Regions from separate parts of the Homo sapiens genome. Here region 2 is linked to region 1. The links are contacts of gene promoters, found by promoter capture Hi-C in human tissues and cell types (Jung and others, 2019). All regions are on one chromosome and are shown on one strand. Each heading gives the region's core, a stretch centred on a gene start or on the middle of the fragment in contact. The rest is flanking DNA. Distances are from core to core; before and after follow the strand shown. Region 1 holds the start of SYDE2 (synapse defective Rho GTPase homolog 2). Region 2 overlaps DNAI3 (dynein axonemal intermediate chain 3).

Region 1 (3,416 bases), core at 528-3,027:
TATTCCTGACTTATAAGTCTTTATGATCACTAAAAATTTTTATATGTAAGAGTATTCAAAAGACCATGTTGTTTTGGCTCACTTTGAAGATATTATACTCCTTTCAGGAAAGATATTTTGATATTTACAACATAATTGACTGGTTTCTAGAATTGATAACCTAAACCTTCAGTGATAGTTAAAAATCATGCACATACAAAATAGGGAGCTTAATCCTATTATAAGGATCAATATACTTTTTAAAAAACTAATTTACTTCTCTTATAAATAGGATTTAAGTTTGCAAATGACTGCTTTAAAAACAAAACTACCTGAGGAACATTTTTCTTTTGATTAAAATGTTAGTGTCCTTGATTTTTCACAATAAAAAGATTACTTTGTTGAGGTTTCTTTGTCGGGGGGAGGCAGGTGGAGAGATGGTGTATGTGAAATACTACCTGACTAAAAAATTCTACTTATGGTAGGGTTTTTTTTGTTTGATTTGTTTGGGTTTTTGGTTGTGTGTATGTATGCATGTGTGTGCGTGCCTGGGAGAGGCAAAAAAAAAAAGTTGTAATGAGTAAAATGACAGTTTATGAAGCCTATAAAATCTACCTTGAATCAAATTCAAATTTACAAACTCCACAAAAGTCTACGGATTTGCCTAGAGCTACAAAGAATAAAAATCAAGACAGTGCCGCCCATCTGTAAACCTACTAAAAGTGTGTTATACTTAACCTTTACTCCTTTAGGTAATACTTAGGGAATAGACACACTGGTTTTTCGAGAAGAAATCACAACCTCAATTCTTCATGCCATTGTCTGATTAAAAAGAAAAAAAAAAGCAAAACGAGTAAATGCATTACATTAAGTAACCCCGAAATTACTTTAAGCTGCCACTTACATGACACTTACTTTCGCCCGGTAACGTACCTGTCGCAAAAACATAACTTTTTCTTGGCTCTTAAGACAGAAGCCCAGTCGGTAAACAGTAAGGCTCGCGGTGCTAGCATTTTCATCGCAAAGTATCCTACCTGTCAGCGTAATTCTTTGGTCTGGAGGCACCGACAGGACACGGTTTTCACGCACTTTCAAAGCGCCCACATTTGGGGAGGCTGCCTGCGTTCCTGTGACTTTGGGAGCCGTCCCACGGGCACGACCCTTCATTCCCAGGGACAGCAGACGCCCTTTGTACATCCACTTCTGCAGCTTCTTGACTGTCACTGCCGGCGGCCTGAGGAAGGAGGGGCCTTCCTGGCGGTCTCCTTTGCCACTGCGTATCACAGAGGACCCCGCTGGATCCCTGAAAGGGCTTCCCGAGGAGCAGCCGTGGTCCTTGCAGCCTGGAGGCTGGAGGCCGGTGGGTGCAGCCGCCCGGGCGCGGTCCCCACTCCAGCCGTCCATCCTGCCTCCACGTGGCGGGGGCTCGTCCCAGTCCCGGTGCGCGCCGCACCTGATCCAGCTGTCGCTCGGCCACCGCTGGAAGGGAGGCGGCTTGGCACCCACCCGGAGGCTCTCGAGGCTTCTGCTGCAGGACGGCCGCATCCGAGGAGTCCGCAGCTGGCCTCCCCGCGGCTCCCTCTGAGGCGACCGGGGCGGGGACACCTGCTGCCGAGGGCGTCCGCCGCCTCCCCGCTCCCCGTCCCGGGGGCAGGCTCGGCGGTACGCGGCGCCGCGGGAAGGCGGCTGGCCCGGAGCCCGGGCTCCCGCGGGGAAGCTGTGATCCGCCAAGCCCCTGCCGCCCCGCCGCGCGCCCGAGTCAGGGGGCAGGTCGTGCATGGCCTGGATCAGCAGATAATAGGCCTCTCGCAACTGGGTCCGCAGCCTGCCTGTCTCCAGGCGGCCGCCCTCCGCCCCCAGGGAGGAGCCCGCCGCTGGGGGAGGCGGGGGACGCCGTTCCGCCTCCGCCCCCTCAGGCTCGGGCGCAGACTGCGAGCCGCCGGGCAGGTTTTCGTAGTAGTCGGCGTCGTAGTCGTCTTCGTCCTTGTCGTCTTCCTCCTCCTCTCCGCTGTCCTCGGAGCCCTCCGGGGAGTGCGGAGGGGCGTGAGCGAGCCCATGGCTCTGGGGGGCGGCCTCCTGCCCGCCGCGCGGCCGAGGCCCGAGCGCCCCCAACTGCTCCGGGTGCCCTCCGGGGACCCGCGCCCCGGGACCCCACGCCTCAGGTGACGGCGAGGGCTGCTGTAGGCTCCGCCCGTGTCCCCCGGCGTGCTCACGTGGGAGGGTGTCTGCGGCACCCCAGGCGTCTCCCGCGGCTGCCGAAGAGGCCGCCACCGCAGCTGCGGCTGCCGCCCGGAGCCCTAGCCCCCCGGTGCCGCGGGGACCCCGCCTTCCCCGGAGCCTGGACAGCGTCCTCCTCAGAGGGTCCGCCATCCCCTCTGCCTTAGCCGCGAGGCTCACCCCCGCCAGGGGGAGAGGTCGGAGCCCCGCTGGGGAGAAAACCGCGCTCGCGGAGGCGGAGGCGGAGGCGGCGGCGGCTCCCCATGACCGGCGCTGGCCCTCGCCGGCTCCTCACATACTTGGCATAACTCTGCCGCGGGAAGGCGTGGGGGAGGGCGGTGGCGCCGCAACGCGCATGCCCCGGAGCCCCGGGCCGCGACGGGGCGCGCGGGCCGGGGGCGGCAGAGGTGGGTTCTCGGGGTGGGCGAGTGGTGCAGGTGGAGGCGGAGGGCGCGGGCCGGTAGGTTGAGTAGTAGGTCGGCTGAAGCTGACCGACGGAAGCAGGGGTGGGCGCACAGAGCGCGAAGGGTGCGGGGAGAGTTGAGGCAGGGGAAAGAAGAACGAGCAGGAACGTGAGTTTGGGCTGGTGGCTGCAAAGTTTTGGTTAGGGAGCCCGAGAAAGGGAAAGTGCCCTCCTGGCTGTCACCCCAGCACCTTCACCGCCACCGCTGCACGAGGTGTGTCTTAGGCACAGCAAGTCCTAGCTTGAGAGAAAACAAAGATTGTTTTGACGGACAAAGTACGAGTGCAGGTGTATCTCGGTGCATGTGTTCTAGAAATGTATCAATCATTTTAATCGCCCAGAGAGCTAGCTAGCTAAAAGAAATTTGCAGCGATTCCTTTTCTATAAGAGTTCTTTTATCAAAAACAAAACAAAACCCACCCACCGATGTCTCTTTTAAGTCTGTTTTTCCTTCTTTATTTCAGTTAATGCATGCTAACAAAATTATTACATCAGCCAAAACTTGTAAAATGGAGCCACAAATATTATGTCCCTCATCACCCTACCTACAAGATTATCATACAGGTTTGCAGCTTTCTAATATAAAAAAGTTAACACTTCATTTTAATTTAAATAGTGAGTTGAGAAGCAATTGAATTGAAGTTGAGACACAGTGTAATCTAGAAATACCGGCTGTCTCCCAAAAACGTTAAATTCCAGGTTCTGGGCAGCAGTTGCAAACTCAAGTACCCCTCGTTGCCAGAGATTAATTGATTCA
Region 2 (3,416 bases), core at 593-3,092, 110 kb before region 1:
TATTAGGACATATCCTAAAAATGCTACTACGCAATATTATCCAAGAGAATTCTCAGAAGAGGAAAAAGAGACACTCAAACAATCAAAGCCTTTGGTTGATTTTCTTAACAATGCATCCATAAGGTAAAAAATTGCATATTAAATTTTAAAAATAAAACATAAAATGTATATGTTTACATAGAATAACAGGTCTAAATAAACAATTCCATATAGGGTATCTAGATAAAAAGTATGAAGACAGTTGTCAGTGTGACACATTCTACAGATTCTCAATATTTATTTCCTTTCTATTGCTAAGCAACATCTTAGCCCTATCAAGCTAAGGCCACATCAAACTGTGTGAGGAGTTGAGTGTGTGAGGATGTTTTCCTAATTGCAGATTAACATTTACTTGTATTTACCATGGTTACTTTTACGTAATTCTTTTTCTCCACTCCTCACTCCTCTTCCTCATTAACTTTTTATAGGATGAGGAGAATGCTGTGGCCATTATTATGATGATAAGTATTTGCAAAAATATCTTTGTAGATGAGAACCTGAATTTAATTCAAATGTCTTTTTGGACATTTCACTCTTATCACCAATTCCTGTGTTCCTGCACTCTTACTGGCTTTGAAAGAGAAGCATCTTCAAAATGCCCCCTAAGCTGTTAGTAGGACCCTGGGTAGAGTTCTGGGGCTTCTAAACCAGAGAAACAGCTTGACAAGTTCTCACCAAGCTGATACTAGAGTTTAGAGAAGTGGATCCACTGGAGGACAAGTCTGCCAGTTATACTCAATAGGCTGGTTTCTATTTCTTTCTAAAATTAAAAACTTGGTGGTCAAGTTCATATATAGCCCAAGTTAAACTTTTTTATTTTTAAGAAATGTCGTTGGTTCTTTCATACTGGATTAAATATCCTAAAAATTCCAACAACTCTCAAACTTGTTACTTATGCCTAGGGAGACTCTGGCTCAAAAATTCAGTTAATGATTCAGAGAGAACATTATTTGCCACTCGCAGGAAGGATGCTATAATTTTTGCTATACGGGCAATGAGATAGAAACAAGAAAACCTGAGTTTCACCCTCCCCTTATCAAAATTTAGTAGTCATTACAATTTTTCCTGTAAGAATATTCAAAATGAGAAGTTTGTTTACATATAATCAATATCCAGAGAAAACTAGATCTTGAGGGAATAAAAAAATGTTCAAAATAAATCCACATTGTATATTATCTTTAGACCTGGGCTTTTATTCTTCCCTCTGAATTTCCATGCTTATAAAGAAAAGAATAGTGGACAGCTTTATGATTCCATCCCTGAGATGTGGGAAGGAGAAGCCAGATCTATAAGAAGAAAGAGGAAAATTGGCACAGGAATTATAATAGCACTGGCCCAGAGTGGATAAGAAACCCATGTTTATATCACTGCAAACATAACTTCCAGCTTTAAAACTGCTTAAGCTTTATTCAATAGTTTTTAATTAAGGTAAGCCTGATTTTGTTCTGGAAGAAAGCCCTTTTAGAAATGGGAAATTTCTTTCTCATAGAATTTTATCTAAAACAAACTTAAGGGAAGCATTATTTGCAAAAGAAGGCAATGACATGAGATGAGAGAGAGGAACTTCAGGGGGATTCACAAAACAACTAAGAAACCTTCCTTTCGGGGTTAAAATTCCTAGACAACAGTTTTGCTAGCCTCCAATTTGTTACTCTCGGGAGCTACATGGTTCCAGGAAAGCAAGAAACCGGAAACCAGAAGAAAGATGTGTTTTCACTTCTTCCGTTTGAATTACTTCCCCGTTCTGGCTAAGGAGGTAGAATCAGGAAACCAGAGCGGAAGCCACGTCTTTAACTTTTCTCTTGAGAATTCCCTTCTCATTTGGGCTTAACCAGAAAGAAATATGATTTGGAAAATGCTTACTAATGCTTCTACTGGAAACTGTTTAAGCCTCGAGAGTCCGCTACACAGGGTTATTCAATGTTCAGTGTGCTTATGAATCACCTGAGGACTCTTGTTAAAATGCAGGTTCTGACTCAGTAAGTCGGGTGGAGCCTGCGACTCTGCATTTCTAACAGCCCCAGGTCATGTTGGTGGTCACTGGATCACACTTTAAGTGGCCAGGTCTTAGGAAAGGGGTCTATTTTGAAAGATGAAATACAAGAAGAATTTAACCAAGGGAGGACTCAATTAGGCAATGACTGGTAGTGTAATGATCAATGACAGGGGTATCAAACGGTGCCCTTTTTTATATTTTAGGAGTATCTGTTTTTACTGTTTATATTGAACTATCTAAAGGATTTTTTCTTATTTTAAGAAATTCACAATTGAGAACCACTTTTTCAACTTACCACACCTATATAAAACCAAGAAGTTTACAGTTTTGATCAGTAGGGTAAAACCTTGGGTGGCATTCTAATTGTGGGAGGGCTCTTAGCAACTTTGGGAGTATGCAGAGCTTTCAGATCTAAGCATAAAAAGGGACAATAACTATCATAGTAACTACTTTAAGACAGGAGCCTGTCAAACCAAGGTCCCTAGACTATTAGCAAATGATCCTAGCACTCAGATGGTATCTTAAAGGAGCAATGTTAGTATTTTTAGCAGGATAATTTTTCATTTTGGGGACTGTCTCATGCATTGCAGGAGGTTTGGTAATGGAATTAAACACAGTAGCACCTCCCAGGCATTGTGACAACTAAAACTACACACACACACACACACACACACACACACACACACACACACTTCTAAACTCCAATTCTTCCCTTGTTCAGAATCTCTTATTTGTTGTTTTGAATTACATATGTATTGGGGCTATCCTGTTAAGGATAAGTGATCATTTAGTACAGAATATGCCTAAGAAAACTGCCATTTGTGACAGTTGGGGCTTTCCAGGAAGCAAATGACATCAAGTTAGAGGCAGACGTTTACTGAGGATTACACTGTGAAAAATAAAGGAGGAGGAGACAGGACCGGGAAGGTAGAGCATCAGACAAATTCTCAGCCTACTCAGCAGGAGCTCCAGAGCAAAGATGCCTGCTGTGGGAGTGCTGCACAAGGAGGACTGGCCAGGCCCAGCCATCCCTGCAGCTGCATGCTCAGGCATTGGCCTGGAGAGAGTACAGCCTTGGCTTGGAAACTGAGGCAGATCATGAAGTTGCTCGAGGTTCTGAGTAACATGCCACCATGATGTTTTTTTCTCTTAAGTCATTTATTTCACATGAGGTTAATCATTATCACCAAATATAATTGAGAATTATTATTTTTTGTTCAGTATAAATGAAGGAGGAGGAGTTGCTAAGATAGTCACATTATTGGATACTAAAAACCAATATCTTAATTGCTTTTTTTATTTTTACAAATTAGTGTTGAAATAGCCCTGCAGCAAAATGAAATCATGAACACATTTATTGATGACTGGAAATACCTCGCAG

Evidence for each region. The method cuts DNA at HindIII sites, captures the fragments that hold promoters and counts their contacts. A contact is called where the count stands out against the background at its distance.
Region 2: a contact is called between a fragment that was not itself captured here and the fragment with the promoter of SYDE2 in region 1, in 2 of the 25 tissues and cell types used here (neural progenitor cells and thymus).

The regions. Positions count from the first base shown.
Region 1 is chr1:85,199,239-85,202,654 of GRCh38, forward strand. It overlaps SYDE2 (synapse defective Rho GTPase homolog 2), which reads right to left and starts at 1,778. Exons shown (of 7, transcript NM_032184.2): 1 at 1,014-1,778. The coding sequence starts at 1,758. LOC124904207 (a long non-coding RNA gene) reads right to left here and starts at 1,004. Exons shown (of 2, transcript XR_007066199.1): 1 at 913-1,004; 2 at 1-801. RefSeq lists an enhancer at 893-1,504 and a silencer at 1,517-2,666. The HindIII fragment of the contact is 20,475 bases long and covers 1-3,416 here.
Region 2 is chr1:85,090,110-85,093,525 of GRCh38, forward strand. DNAI3 (dynein axonemal intermediate chain 3) reads left to right here. Exons shown (of 23, transcript NM_145172.5): 8 at 7-123; 9 at 3,349-3,416. Among named protein-coding and RNA genes, the nearest start is that of DNAI3, 29 kb to the left of the region's middle. The HindIII fragment of the contact is 5,308 bases long and covers 1-3,416 here.